Linked DNA regions of Homo sapiens: region 2 is linked to region 1. The links are contacts of gene promoters, found by promoter capture Hi-C in blood cells and fetal thymus (Javierre and others, 2016). All regions are on one chromosome and are shown on one strand. The core of a region is centred on a gene start or on the middle of the fragment in contact, and the rest is flanking DNA. Distances in the headings are between cores, read along the strand shown.

What was found. Contacts are between HindIII fragments. The CHiCAGO score rates a contact against its expected background, and 5 or more counts as called.
Region 2: a contact is called between the fragment with the promoter of ADAMTSL2 here and a fragment that was not itself captured in region 1, in 2 of 17 cell types (M1 macrophages and M0 macrophages). The highest score is 7.4, in M1 macrophages.

Annotation. Positions count from the first base shown.
Region 1 is chr9:133,993,158-134,000,894 of GRCh38, reverse strand. No RefSeq gene overlaps it. Among named protein-coding and RNA genes, the nearest start is that of VAV2, 4.7 kb to the right of the region's middle. RefSeq lists a silencer at 6,312-6,411 and enhancers at 7,259-7,448, 7,345-7,737. The HindIII fragment of the contact is 4,448 bases long and covers 3,259-7,706 here.
Region 2 is chr9:133,529,773-133,536,485 of GRCh38, reverse strand. It overlaps ADAMTSL2 (ADAMTS like 2), which reads right to left and starts at 1,782. Exons shown (of 19, transcript NM_014694.4): 1 at 1,569-1,782. RefSeq lists enhancers at 212-753, 1,294-1,835, 1,836-2,375, 2,376-2,917, 6,012-6,517 and a silencer at 3,176-3,265. The HindIII fragment of the contact is 12,534 bases long and covers 1-5,675 here.

The DNA of each region.
Region 1 (7,737 bases), core at 4,233-6,732:
CAATTTCATTTTTGGCAAACTTCTAAGTTTACGGGAAACAATTTGGGTATGCAAATCTACTTTTTCAACTGTGAATTCTGTGAAACCTAAACACATATCAAATGCGTCTGATGAAAATTTAGGGTTCAAACTGAAGTCCGCTATCAGTGCAAACCACATGCTGGATTTTGAAACTTGGCGAGAAAAAAGAATGTCAAATGTCTCTCTAATAGATTTGTACATTGATTACATATTGAAATGATAATATTTCAAATATACTGGATCAAGTACAGTGTATTACTAAAGTTGATTCCACTTACTATTAATTATTTGTCAGCCATAAAAAGGAATGAAGCCCTTCCTGGTGCACGTTCATGGTGAATGGAACTTGGCATCATGCTGGAGGGAAGAAGTCAGGCACAAAAGGCCACACGTTGGCTGATTTCATTTAGATGAAGTGTCCGGAACAGGCAAATCCATAGAGACAGGAAGCAGCTTAGTGGTTGCCATGGCTGAGGATGGGCAGGGTTGAGGAGGGCAGCTAAGGGATACGGGGTCTCCTTTGGGGGTGGCAGAAATGTCCCAGAGTTGGAGTACGTGAGCTGTGGTCTGGCAGGGGTGCTGTCTAGCAGGGTAGGGGTGGGTATGTCTCCTTGGCAGTGCCCTTACTGCGCCTCAGGAGGTGCTGTGGCTAGAGGACAGCTGGAGGGGCCCAGGACAGGGTGGCATTGAATGCCATTAAGGGCATGGACAGGCTTAGAGCCCAGTGTCCCTTGGCCGTGTCTTCCTAGCACCAGGGTGTGCTGCCTCCCTTTCAGTAAGAGCCAAAGTTTCCAGAGTTCGGCAGGCTGAGTCTGCCAAGGACCACATTCAGGAGGCTCCCCAGCCTCCCCCTTGTATCGCATAACTCATAACCCATTCCCATAACTCACAGCTGGCCATGTGGGTCTTGGCTCATCCTCCTAGCTGGTCTGGGCCTCGCCTCCCTCTCCTGCTTTGGGTTGGCCTGCTGGGCTGTGATGAGAGGGCTCCTGCAGAGATCCCAAGTCCACCTCCACACGCTGCCCAGCCTCTGGCCTACACTTGCATGAAGTCCGTTCACATTCACGGAGGGAAGACTGTTTCCCCCTTCCTTAAAGCCTTGATTAGGTGACCCTGAACTCATGAGCTCAAAGACTCCAGGCAGTGCTCACAGAAAACTGCCCCGGTCTCCTAAATAGTCACTGGAAGGTGTCCAAACAATGGCCACTTGGCAGTGAGATTTCAGAGATTTCAGTTTAGGGTACGATCCATGGATTATGGCATTTGATTTAATTTTGAAAGTTGAACAAGAAGTAAAAAATCTATATTTTGCCCTTTCAAACAAAATGTAAAAGCCCCCACCCAATAATTCAGTCAGGCATACTCTGACTGCATGGTGGGCCAGATGGTCTTTTTCTACACCTATAATTTCCCAGGAAATTGTGACAGCTGAATTTGCATGATGTAGCTACAAATGGAATTTGCACAATGTGTGTGTTCATGTGGTTTGGACATGAGAATAATTCCTTTATCCCATCATGTTGGGAAGAGTCAAAACATTCACTTGCCCTTCCTCATGAACAAAGCCAGTGCTCAGTCAGTATTTTCTATGTGGAGGATGGAGGATGGGTGGAGGGATGTGAGGGATACACAGAGGGATGAATACAGGGATGAATGGAGGGATGGGTGGGGGAGGGGTGGAGAGATGAATTTAATGGATGGAGAGATGAATAGAGAGATGGATGGGTGGATGGATGGAGGGATGGGTGGATGGATGGAGGGATAGGTGGATGGATGGAGAGATGGGTGGAGGAATGGATGGGCGGAAGAATGGGTGGAGGGATAGATGGAGGGAGGGATGAATGTGGGGGTGGGTTGAGGGATGGATGGGGGAGTAATGGGTGAAGGGATGGGTTGAGGGATGGGAGAAGGAGGGAGGGACATAGGAGGGGTGAGTGGAAGAATGAATGGAAGGATGGGTGGAGGGATGGGTGGACGGAGGGATAGATGGAGGGAACAGTGGAGGAATGGATTGGTGGAAGGATGGAGGGATAGGTGGAAGGATGGGTGGAGGGATGGGTGGACGGAGGGATAGATGGAGGGAACAGTGGAGGAATGGATTGGTGGAAGGATGGAGGGATAGGTGGAAGGATGGGTGGAGGGATGGGTGGACGGAGGGATAGATGGAGGGAACAGTGGAGGAATGGATTGGTGGAAGGATGGAGGGATAGGTGGAAGGATGGGTGGAGGGATGGGTGGACGGAGGGATAGATGGAGGGAACAGTGGAGGAATGGATTGGTGGAAGGATGGAGGGATAGGTGGAAGGATGGGTGGAGGGATGGGTGGACGGAGGGATAGATGGAGGGAACAGTGGAGGAATGGATTGGTGGAAGGATGGAGGGATAGGTGGAAGGATGGGTAGAGGGATGGATGGAGGGAGGGATGGGTGGAAGAATGGATGGAAGGATGGGTTGAGGGATAGATGGGGAAGGATGGAAGGATGTAGGAGGGATGGGTGGAAGAGTGGATTCCAGGATGGGTGGAGGGATGGATAGAGGGAGGGATGGGTGGAGGAATGTGGGAGGGATGGATGGAGGGGTGAATGGAGGGAAGGACGGCGGGATGGGTGGAGCGATGAGTGGAGGGATAGGTGGAGGGATGGGTGGAGGGATGGGTGGAGGGATGTGGGATGGGTGGAGGGATGTGGGATGGGTAGAGGGAGGGATGAGTGGAGGGATGGCTGGAGGGATGTGGGATGGTTGGAAGGAGGGATGGGTGGAGGGATGTGGGATGGATGGAGGGAGAGATGGATGGATGGAGGGATGGATGGAAGGAGGGATGGGTGGAGGGATGGGTGGAGGGATGGGTGGAGGGATGGGTGGAGGGATGTGGGATGGATGGAGGGAGAGATGGATGGAGGGAGGGATGGATGGAGGGATGGAGGGAGGGATGGATGGAGGGAGGGATGGGTGGAGGGATGTGGGATGGATGGAGGGAGGGATGGGTGGAGGGATGTGGGATGGGTGGAGGAATGTGAGAGGGATGGATGGAGGGATGGGTGGAGGAATGTGGGAGGGATGGATGGAAGGAGGGATGGATGGAGGGATGAGTGGAGGAATGTGGCATGGATGGAAGGATGGGTTGAGAGACGGATGGATGGAAGAGTGGGTAGCAAGATATAGGAGGGATGGATGGAGGGGCAGGTGGAGGGATGATGGACAGACTCCAGCCTTGGGCGGAGCTCCTTTGAAGAAGCTTCAGTCTATCCCTGGGATGCTGGCTGTGGAATGAGGGTCCCCTGAGCCTTGGACCTTTTGATGAAAAGTACTGAGACCTTGCAGCAGGTCTTGGTGTTTTTTGGGGGAATACTGGACTGAGACAGTGCCCACTCTGGCTGTATGGAGGTTCTCTGGGAGGGCCTGTATGGAAAGAAACAGTCTTGAGTGAGAGGTAAACTCTCAAGCCCTTCCACTGTGGCATGTAACGCGCTAAGGGACACATGTATTCCTGTTCAGAAACCAGACCCTGGGGCTGCCCAGAGAATGAGGACACCAATTTGATGAGGGCAGCTCTGCAGAAACCCAGGGGAGGGGCGCTGGGCCGGTCGTGGACTCAGATTGTCCTGTGCCACTGCCCTTGAAATCATTATTTATCAGTAGAAAACAAAAGCAAACCTCTCAGCTGGAGGCATAGGAGAAGGTGGACCTGAGTTCGAATCTGAACTCTGCCAGTTGCATAACCTTGGCCAAGTCACTCAAGCTATGTGAGCCGACCTCATCTGTAGCACAGTACGATGACAGTCCTCGCCTCCTAGGGTGTGGGTGGTCCTGGCTCAGGGCCTGGGTGCAGGAAGGACGTGCTGAGTTGTAGGTGGAGCATCACTCGTGGTGTGAGTGACTGGGCAGAGAAGCCAGAGGGGAAGCCCAGCCATGCTGCCCACATAAGGGCAGCCACCTGTCTACCCACTCCTTCCTCCAAAGGTCTCCTCTCTGGGACCCCGAGGATCCAAGAGTCACCAGGTTTCCAGGACCTCCAGGATGCGTGGATATACTTCCAGCTGCCCTTCCCTCCTTTAAGTCAGTGTCGGACCCTTCGGCTCCCGTTTCTTAGCCTTGCTACTCCTGCCTGTACTAAGGGCTCATTTCGGTACCACAGTGGCGGGGCGGGGGGGTGTGCCTGTGGGCTCCAGGCACTGCGCTCTGTTGCTGACTCCGTATCCACGTGTTCTAGACATCAGATCATTTTCCCTCCCTCGTCACCTCCCCACCCACATCAGTGCATTAAGGGAAAGCAGAAAGTTCTAGGCGTGGAAAGCCCTTTCAGCAGCAGCCTCTATTTAGGGGTGCACACAGGTGTCAATAAGGCCTGGCGTTTGGACTTGGCTTTTTCCTGTGTTGCTGGGTGACCTTGGGCAGCTCACCAATGTGCTTGGTGAGCTGGTTTTTATGTTGGACCACTCAGTACAATAACAGTGACTAGAAGTGATGGAGTGGCTTGTGGTTTAAAGGAGGTGACCATCACCTAGGCCGGCCACTCAGACTCAAGACACAGGATTGGTTACTGCAACTATGAATGCTGTTAAAATATAACGGCTTGAAAGTGACAATGTGCGACGTAACTGCAATCTTACGTAGTGTAACGTTAATTCACATAGCGATAGTGTTAAAATATGCCACAAGTCAATAAATAAGATTATATTGCCTTTTATTTTTTATTTTTTTTGAGATGGGGTCTCACTTTGTCACCCAGGCTGGAGTGCAGTGGTACGATCTCGACTCGATGCAACCTCTGCCTCCTGGGCTCAAGTGATCCTCCCACCTCAGCCTCCCAAGTAGCTGGGACTATAGGCGTGCACCACCATGCCAGGCTAATTTTTGTATTTTGGTGGAGACAGCGTTTCACCTTGTTGCCTAGGCTGGTCTTGAACTCCTGGACTCAAGGGATCCACCCGCCTCAGCCTCCCAAAGTGCTGGGATTACAGGCATGAGCCACCACGTCCAGCCTCCGATTACATTGCCTTTTATAAGCTGTCTTTGGATCAGTTTAACGCATCTGTGGCTTCCATGAAAGAATATATTGGATTTAAAAATTACAATTACAGTGATTTGCTAGATTTTACCTCCAGTGAGGCGGGAGCCCCGAGGTGCCCATCCGCGCAGAAGAGAGACAGGGTGTCACTGAGGGCCGACTGGGTCCTTGCTGGCTGCGGAGGACAGGTGGAAGGGTGGAAGCGGGTCCAAGGAGAGGGGGCCTGGGGCTTGGTGGGGGTGGGCCAGGAGGGGGCAGATGCTGGACAGAACAGGAAGGTGGACTGCTGGGACTCGCTGCCCACATGGCTGCCGGGGAGAATGAGACAGGAGCTCAGGAGGACACTGCGGTTTATTGTTCAATGCCTGAGATCATGGCAACACTGAATTCCTTTGTGGTTTAAAAATCAACTCCTGTCCAAGCTCTCCATCCTCCATGTCACCCTCTCCTAGTCACTGCAACCATGATCAATCTCTGGTTGTCAACTCAAACCTCAGTTTCTCCTGGAAGCCTTGCTGCTCCCTCCCCGGGTGTGCCCTGCCTGGTGCCCTCCTCCGCCACCTGTGACCCTCCCCCATACTTGGGGTATGTGGCCCATGCTGGCACTTCTTGCTCCCTGGTTTAATCTGCTCGGCTGGACTGGCAGCTGCTCACTGGCAGTCTGTGTAAGCAGCTCCCCCTGGAGCCCATCTCCAAGGTGTGATGGGACTCTCGCCCCCTGGAGGTGTGCAGCAGGCAGTCCTGGCAGACAGCCCTGAGTCCAAGTGGACATGGATGGTGGTAGGATTTTCCCAAACAGCGTCCTCTCTATTAGTCTTCCTGGCATGTGCCTTGAGTCCACAGTCTCAACCTGTTCATCATTACACTCACACTAAAGGTTACAAAGGGAGCTCCTGCCCCATTTTCTTTACCTTTTATTTTATTTTTGAGACAGGGACCCACTGTGTTGCCCAGGCTGGTCTTGAACTCCTGGACTCAAGCCATCTGCCTGCCTGAGCCTCCCAAAGTGCTGGGACTACAGGCTTGAGCTGCTGTACCTGGCCCCACCAAACTTTTGTTCTTTGATTCACATCCATCCTGCCCTCAGAGCCTCCAAGGATTCTGGGAGGTGCACAGGGCCGGTGAATGTCCTATGCCGATCAGGACCTGGGAACCAGGGAGGCCTGAGTGGCTCAGGGCCACTGTGGTGAAGTCTGTGTCTCCTGAGTTGGGTCTTCTCAACGGTCAACCCCAGATTTTCTGTGCAGCCCCTCCTGGGTGCAGCCAGGTGCCCCGTGGTGACAGCACCACCAGGGGGCAGCAGGTACCCATGGCATTGTTGGCGGGCGGCTGCCTGGGTCCCAGACCTGGCTGGTCCTCTTGGCCAGAGCAGGCAGGCCCAGGACCGTGAGGACAGAGGCCCCCTTCTTGCTGAGGGAGCCACCTGGGGAAAGAGACATTTAGTGCATCAATGCGCCGGCGGTCCAGGCGAGGGGTTGGGAGAGTGGGTAGCTCTTCTTCCTCTCTGAGCCCTTTCTGTCCCAGCACAGTGGGAAGCCTCTGGGTAATTTATCCGTCCATTCTTCACAAGCAAGTCCAGTGGGAGCCGGGTCTCCCCGCTCTAGAGAGGAGGGGATGAGGCTTTGCAGGAGGAGGGATCAGTGTAGGCTCTCAGATGGGGCTGGAGGGCCCCGCTCAGGTTTCACTCCTGGCTTTCTGATTTCTTAGGGAGATGCTGATGGGTCCACCTGCTGCCCCATCTTGCTTCGGTGAGGAAAGCTCTCCCCCTTGCCCTAAAGGTGCCCACTGCTGCTTCCTCGGGGAAGGGCAAGAGACCTGAGCCCCCGCCTCACCAGCCACCTGGCCTGAGTTTACTGCTGCAGGGGCCAGCTCCTTCCTGACCTCTCTCTACGGGCCAGACCCTAAGCTGGGACCCCCTGCTTCCACCTCAGTGGAGAAGGGGTGAGTCTGACTCTGCAGAGACCAATTTCCAGGACAGGACCCCCATCGGAGGCCCTGGGCCCAGGGGACCCTCTCTGCGCTCGCATCCCCGTTCCGGCCCCTGCGCAGGGAAGCCACGGGGTAAGGGGTCCGGGGGCTGCAGTGCAGCCCCAGCTCATACAGGCCCAGGATTCCACCGGAGTCCAGGGTGGGAGCCCTCAGACACCGCACCCCAGCCTCCGGGCTGAGCCAGTCTCAGAGAAGGGCTTGGACTTGCCTGGTGTCCCCCAGTGAATCAGCAGTGAAAACCCGCGGTTCCCGGCAGCTGAGCCAGGATCCATATAATTTCAGTTGCAGAATCTGTTTGTCCTTGAAGCCCCTCCTACCGTCACACGTTGCCAGCTGGACAGACCGCGCCCCCACCACCCAGGGTGTGGCCTAGAAGGGAGATCAGGGCGGATCAGCACCGGGGCCGGCTGCGACCCTGGGCCGGAGAGCACCTTCCTGCCCTCACTCATGTCACGCATTCCGCCCTGGACGCCAGGAACTGCCCGCTGGGCAGCTGCGAGTGGCCAGGACTTTGGCCAAAAGCTGGGGAATCCTGGCCTTTATGCAGGGTCGGGGGTCTTCCTATGGGCCCCCGGCCAGGGCGGAGGACAGGAAGAGGGCTCTGGGAGTCCTGGGCCCGTGTGCCTTCAGCCTCAGCCTCGGGTATCCCGCCGGGGCGGCTTGATGGGCCAAGGGGGCTCAGTAAGCTTCGGCCCAGCCCGGTGCCCTCTCCCGAGTCT
Region 2 (6,713 bases), core at 533-3,032, 460 kb after region 1:
TTCAGGCAAGACACCCAGCGGCGGTGTGCGTGCTAAGCCTGTGCCACCCTTGATCCAAGGGCATGCAGGGAAGCATGCCATGCTTTGCCTCCAAGTCCTCAAGCCCCCTAGAGAAGGGCTGTGGAGACAGCCAGCCTCGGCTGAGGGGGCTGGGGACCCAGGCGGGGGGAAAGGCTCTGGTTCGAAGGGATGGGCCTGGGCTCAGTCCAGCGCCTTGGCAGGAGCACCTTGGGATTTTAACTGGCTCAGCTCTTGCTGGCCTCGCAGGAGAATGGCCTCTGCCACTGGCTGCTAGGGTCAGTGCATGGGGATGGGCTTGGCCAGGTCCCGGGGGAATGTGCAGCCTCGCCCTAGACCAGCAGCTCCACAGTCAGCATCCAGCAACAGCCGGCACTCAGGTGAGGCAGAACCCAGGTACCTATGCCGCCTCCCGATCCCCGGAGAGAAGATGGAATTGGGGGAGGGGCAGGGCAGGAGGAGGTGCAGTTTGTGCCAGCATGTCAGCAGTCCAGGGCCACAAGGCTGACTTCCTCCCAACAGCCAGCACCCTTGGCTCAAAACACCTGCCAGGGGTCAAAGCAAGCCCATTGGAAGGGACTGTCCAGCCTCCAGGCCCTCAGCTCTCCCCACCCCCTCCTCAGCGTCGACCCTGCCCTGTGGAAGGGAAGACCAGAGATCCACCATGACCTCTGTCCAGGCCTTGCTCAGGTGCTGAGGGTCACTTGCCAGCGAGTTAGAGAAGGGATTTCAGAAACCACGCAGCCTGCACTCATAACCTGGAGCCCAGAGAGGGGAGCCAACCTGCTCAAAGCCACACAGCAAGGTAGCACACTAGCAAACTCAGGGACTCGACCCCCACGCCTGGCCAATTCCAGGGGAAGAAGGCATGGAGGTCACCCCTCACCCCTGCCAGGCCAGAGGCCAACTCGGGCTCTGCCCCTCCCTCCTCAGCAGCCTCCATCCAACTTGAAGAGTTTCCTTGCAGGCCCGGCACCTGCAGATTTTCAGGGGCCACTCCAAGGACACCACTGCAGCCCGGACGACGCAGCAGTGCACCCTGGAGTGGGGAGCCTGAGTCTGACCTCCCCTGCCCCCGCCGCCTGCCCCCCACCTCCCTCCCCTGCAGACCTCCATCTGCACTCTCAGCCTCACACCCACAGGAGCCCCCTCCACTGTGCCATTGGCTAACGGGTGCCCCAGCCTCTGCCTGCCGGCTGAAGACAGGTGCCAGCCGGCCTCACACTTGCTTTTTTCATTAAGGCTTCCAGACACCACTGGCTTCTGGCCAGGCCTCGCTCACGGGGATCCATCCCTCCCTGGGGTCCAAAAGCAGCGGCTGGCGGCAGCAGAGAGGTCTGCCGTGCACACAGAGCTCCGGGCGCACAAGGCTAGGTGCTGGGAGGCCACCCTGCCCCGTGCTCTGCGGCCCGACCCCTCCCCACAAGCCTCCCCACGTTATGTAACGGCTCCAGAGGGCGCGGGGTGCTCCTACCCCCAGCCCCACTCTGAGCAGTGGGCTGGCCTGGTGGACGCTGCAACGTGAGGGGGACGGGGACGAGGTGGCCTACCTGGCTTCGGGTCAGCAGGTTGTCCTCCCAGAGAAAGGGGCGAGCGCTGCGGAGGGCAGACGGCGCCAGGTGCGCTGTGCGTGCGGGGGCGGCGTGAGTGCAGAGGCTGCGGCCCGGCCTCCCTCTCCCCTTCCCCTCCTCCCCCGCGCCGCCTCCCTCTCCCACTTCAAAGAGCATCCAAGAGAGGGGGTTCCCGGGAGGGGCGCAGCCCAGTGGCGGCTCTGCGCCGGCGGCCGCCTTTATAGCTGTCAGGCAGACGGGGAGGAACACTCACACTTCCCACCAGGCCGCTCCCCCGCCCGCGCCGGCCGGCCTGGCGCACACTTTAACCCGCTCTGCGCCTCTGGAGCCCGGCCAGGCCGGCCCAGCTGCCTGTTGGCTGCTGCCGGCGGCGGCGGCCCAGGAGCGGCGAGCAGGGAGGCCTTCTTCCCGGGTCCAGAACTGGGGGCCACATGTCGGGTGTCCAGACGGAGCAGCCGCTGGCCTGAGGTTACCGGGGAGGCTGGCGGTGGCAAAGCCCCAGCCCCGCCTGTCCGGCTTCTGCCTCCAGAGCGGGCCCTGTCCCTGGGGCTCCTGAGAATGGGGTCTGGGATGTATGAGGTGTCCCGTCTGATGGCTCCGTTGTACGGAGGGAAAGGCTGAACTTCCGGGACGACCGTGCCCCAGGTCACGAGCCTCAGAAAGCTCCCGAGATGCAGGGGCCTAAGCAGGTGGAGGGACGCAGGGAGACCCAGCGAGAATGAACCAAGGGCTCCAGGGAGGAGACAGATGTGCCCGTGGCCTGCTGACCAGATGGCTAGAGCAGCCAGGGCCAGGGCAGAGAGGCTCAGGGATTCTGCAGATGTCCAGCACCAACTTGGCAGCCCCTGGCAGGCCAGGCCTGGAGCTCAAGCCTCTGTTCCTGCTGAGTCAGGGCACAGAGGGGAGCGAGAGTGGGTGGAGCAGCAGAGCCCCCCTGGGAAACTCCCGGCGGGCCCCAGACTTTGTGAGGCTTTCCTAAAGCAAGGCTGGGCACCTAGCCTCTGCACACCAGCTTCCCCAGAGCCCATCCTCGGCAAACAGAGGCACCTCCAAAAAGGGGAGGAGGAGGAAGCTGGGGCACCATTCCATCAGGTCATCTGTGTCTTTTCATCCATGCCCCTGCCTCCATGCAGCAGATGTCCTGGGCCCACAGCAGTGCCGGGAAGACACTTCTCCTTCCCTCTGTCCTCCCTGCTGGAAGAAACTTGTGAGTTCCTTCAGCTGCCTTCATGAGAAAGTTCTGCCCTGTGTCTGACCACCCACCAGAAAGGCTGGGAAGGAAAGCCACCAGTAATAGTAGTGAAAGCGATAATACCGTCTGCCCTCTGTCCAGCTTGTCCTACGGGCCCAGAGCTGTGAGGCCAGATCCACCTTTATGATCTGCATTTCACAGGTGGAAGAACTGAGGTTCGGGGACCAAGTCACCTCTCCAGTAGGCAAGGCTGGGATGCCAGCGCTCCTGAGTGTCGGGTTCTCTCCTCTGCCGGGTTGTTTAAGTTTCTCTCCCCGGGACCCTCGGGCAGGCAAGTCTTATTCATCTCATTCTCCTGCTGGGGCAACTGGGATGCAAGGTGGCTGCTCCTAGTCACAGGGCCACCTGCGGTGTGGAACCAGGACTAACCCTAACCCTAACCCAGGCCCACACTGCCCCCTGGGGTCGCTGTGCTGAATCACAGACATGGTGGCACCTGTCACCCAGCACACACACACACACACACACACACACACACACAGGCACACACACACCCAGTCCCTCTCACATGACCGGATTACACTCGCTCTGGGTGCCTCTGCCATCCCCTTCCTCTCTCTTCTGGTGACCGCCAGGCCTCGCACCCCTTGGCACAGTCCCCGAGCTCTCCTGGCGTTTGTGGCCTCACATCCAGCCAGCGCCAGGGTGACTAACGGTTTCCCTTGGGAGGGACCCCACAGCCGACCAACACAAACACCCCCAGTGTCTTCTCTTGGCTCAGCAGGACGGCACAGGCTGCAGGCTGGCCACCTGGGAGACGGGTCTGTGGGGCCAGCCATCCCCTGGCTCTGTGACCTCCTGCAGGTGTGTGACCCTCCAGGCCCCAGCTCCCCTGGCCAGCCACACTTCCACACCACCCCCACCCCTTACCCCAGAGCCTGCAGACTTGAGGCCCACAGGGAGCCATGACTGGCACGTAGCAGGTGCTCTGGTAGCTCCTGATGCCAGGGGCTCCTTACCCCTTAGAGAGTGCTGTTGAGGTGAGTCCCCCACTCTCCAGGATCCCTCTTCGGCCTGCAAATTCCCGGCCTCTCAGGGCCTTCCCCATGTAGGATGGTCTCAGCCCACACCTACCGGCACTTGTAGGGGTGTTGCAGCCGTATGGCCCTGGTGCTGGAGACACCACCTGCCTTTAGAAGGGGATTGTTGGCCAGGCGCAGTGGCTCATGCCTATAATCCCAGCAGTTTGAGAGGCTGAAGCAGGGGGATCACACGAGGTCAGGAGTTTGAGACCAGCATGGCCAACATGGTAAAATCCTGTCTCTACTAAAAATACAAAAATTAGCTGGGCGTGGTGGCGGGCACCTGTAATCCCAGCTACTCGGAAGGCTGAGGCAGGAGAATTGCTTGAACCTGGGAGGTGGAGGTTGCAGTGAGCCGAGATCTCGCCGCTGCCCTCCAGTCTGGGTGAAAGAGTGAGATTCCGTCTCAAAAAGAAAAAAAGAGAGAGAAAAAAAAGAAGGGGATTTTCTCCGCCAGTGTTTTCCAGATATCTGAGGAGCTTAGAAATAGGACAGCAGGAATATGTGTGGGGGATGCCCGGGAGGGTGGGGTTCCAGGGAAAACACGGCGGGGATAGAGAAGCAGGCTTGAGGCAGAGGGGCTGGTGGGCCGTGGCTGACCACTTTGGAGGTTCCCTGGGGAGGATGTTAGGCTGCCGCAGTGGGAGCAGGGCCTGTCCTCACAGCAAAGTGGCCACAGCAGGCTCGGGAGTTTAAGGACGTGGCCCGAGCTGTCGAGGTGGGTCCCCTCTCTGTCACCCAGAGGCCTAGCAGGCCTGGCAAATGTATGTGTGTAGTGTGGTTCACCTAGCCGATAGGGCTGGCCGGCCACAGCCTCAAGAGTGGCCCACCAATACCACCTTCCCTGGCATCCTGCGGTTCTTCTCTGTTGCCAGCCCAGGACCCAGAACATCCTAGGAGCCTCCTGGGCAGACCCAGCCAGAGTTCTCACACCTGACTGGGACGGGGCCACCAAGGGACCATGTGGCCAGCTGGGAGGTGGCTGGCAGCCCCGGAAGAGGACCAGGACTCAGAAGGCAGCCCCAGGGAAAGAGCGAGGGGGCCTCAGCAACCCCAAGAGCCGTCCCTGTCCCCGAGCTTCCTTCCTGGCCCAGGATAGAAGCCAGCTGTCCCTGAGACCCCCCTGGGGCTGGATATACGGGAAGAGCCTCCCCCGCCTTCCCTGGCTGGTCCCAGGTCCATGCACGACCACTGGCTGGCCAGGTCACTTCAGGCCACTTGTCCCTGACAGGCCGAGTTTCCTGGTCTGTTGCACAAGGTCAAGGTCCTTTTTTAGCCCCAGACATCTCACAGGCACACTCAAGAGACAACTGAGACAAAAGCAGAGGTGGGGGCTCCTGCTTCCCCTCTTCTCCCCAGCAGCCCTGAGGCCCCTTCTGGGCACCAGGACTCCTGGAAGCATCATCTGAAAGCTGGCGGACCGGAAGAACCCCAGCCCCCAGCAGCCCCTCGGGCTCTGCTCGCACACGGCCATGACCTCCAGAGATGCCCCGTGTCAGGGATATCTGCTGGGGGCAGGAGGACATCACCAAGCCAGTGAGCTCTTTCTTCCATGCCACCCACAGTGACCAGGGGCGGGCAGCCACTGGTGTCACAGCCAGGTGAAGCAGGAAACCCAGGACCTTGGATCCCGACACTCAGAAGGGCCCCGTCTCAGAGGCTTAGCGTGGAGGCTCAGCATAGGAAGCAGCAGCTCTTCCAATAGCACAGCAACAGCAGCCTCACGCGTGAGTGCCTGGAACCGGACTCTTTGGGTTCAAATCCTGACTCCGTCTCTCTCCAGCTGGGTGACTTTGGGCGAGGGCAGAAGCTTCTCTGTGCCTCAGCTTCCTCACCTGTAAAGTGGCGGTGATAAGGCACTCCCCATGCTGGACTCTTGTGAGGCTGAAATGAGTCCATATGGGAGAAGGGCCTGGGATGGTGGTGGAGAAAGGAAGGGCTGCACGTGCTTTGCTCTGAGCCCAAAGGGTAGCCCGGGGCCAGTGTCTACTCTGCTGTCATCCTCCATCCTGACAATGCCACATCAGGTAACACTGCCACGCCCAGACAGAGAAGGAAGCTGAGGCCAAGGCTTGGACCCCGCCTGAGTCCAAGTGGACTTTCTCAGCCTGGCCAACTTTCTCACATTGTCTCTCGAGTGTGCCTGTGAGATGTCTGGGGCTAGGATGGGGTGCCTGTCATTGGTCCAGGATGGGGTGCACCTGGGTCCCAGGAGAGCCCAGAGCAGCAGGACGTGCTCAGCCTCCCCACCAGGACCAGCAGCGGGACCCTCCCCGATGGCCTCCACTGCTGTTCCTGGAGCCCAGGGCCTTGCGAGCCCTGACTCAGCTTCTCCTTTCCCTGCAAGCCCAGGGATGTGGTGCCCAAGAGGGGCAAGTTTCCACGTAGAGAGGCAAGCTGGGGCAGACAAGAGGCTGGGACCAACAGGGACGCAGGGCCTGCAAAGGGGTCAGGAGCAGCCTTTGGTTCACTGAGAGGTGTGGGTCTGGGCTGGCCTGCTCTCCGTCCTCCCAGCACACACACAGGACTCCGATTCCCCTCTGGGAGTGCTCCCTGCCAACATCAACCCTGCTGTGGCTCAGCCCACGGGTGGAGAATGGACATCCCTGGGTGGTACACCTATGCCCCCGATCAGAGCCTGCCCTGAGGAGGGGACTGCAGCCCCCAGGGGTGACCAGCTGGTGCCGGACCACAGAACTTGGTTTCTCCTCCTCCTCTTCCTCCTTCTTTCTCAGCCAGGAGCACTGGCGTTTTCTGTTAGGCCAACGCTGAAAGCTCGAGCTGGGGGAGCTCATGTCTATGGCTAACAGAGACTGCTTAGGCCACTCCTGGTCTGAGACTCTAGGAGAA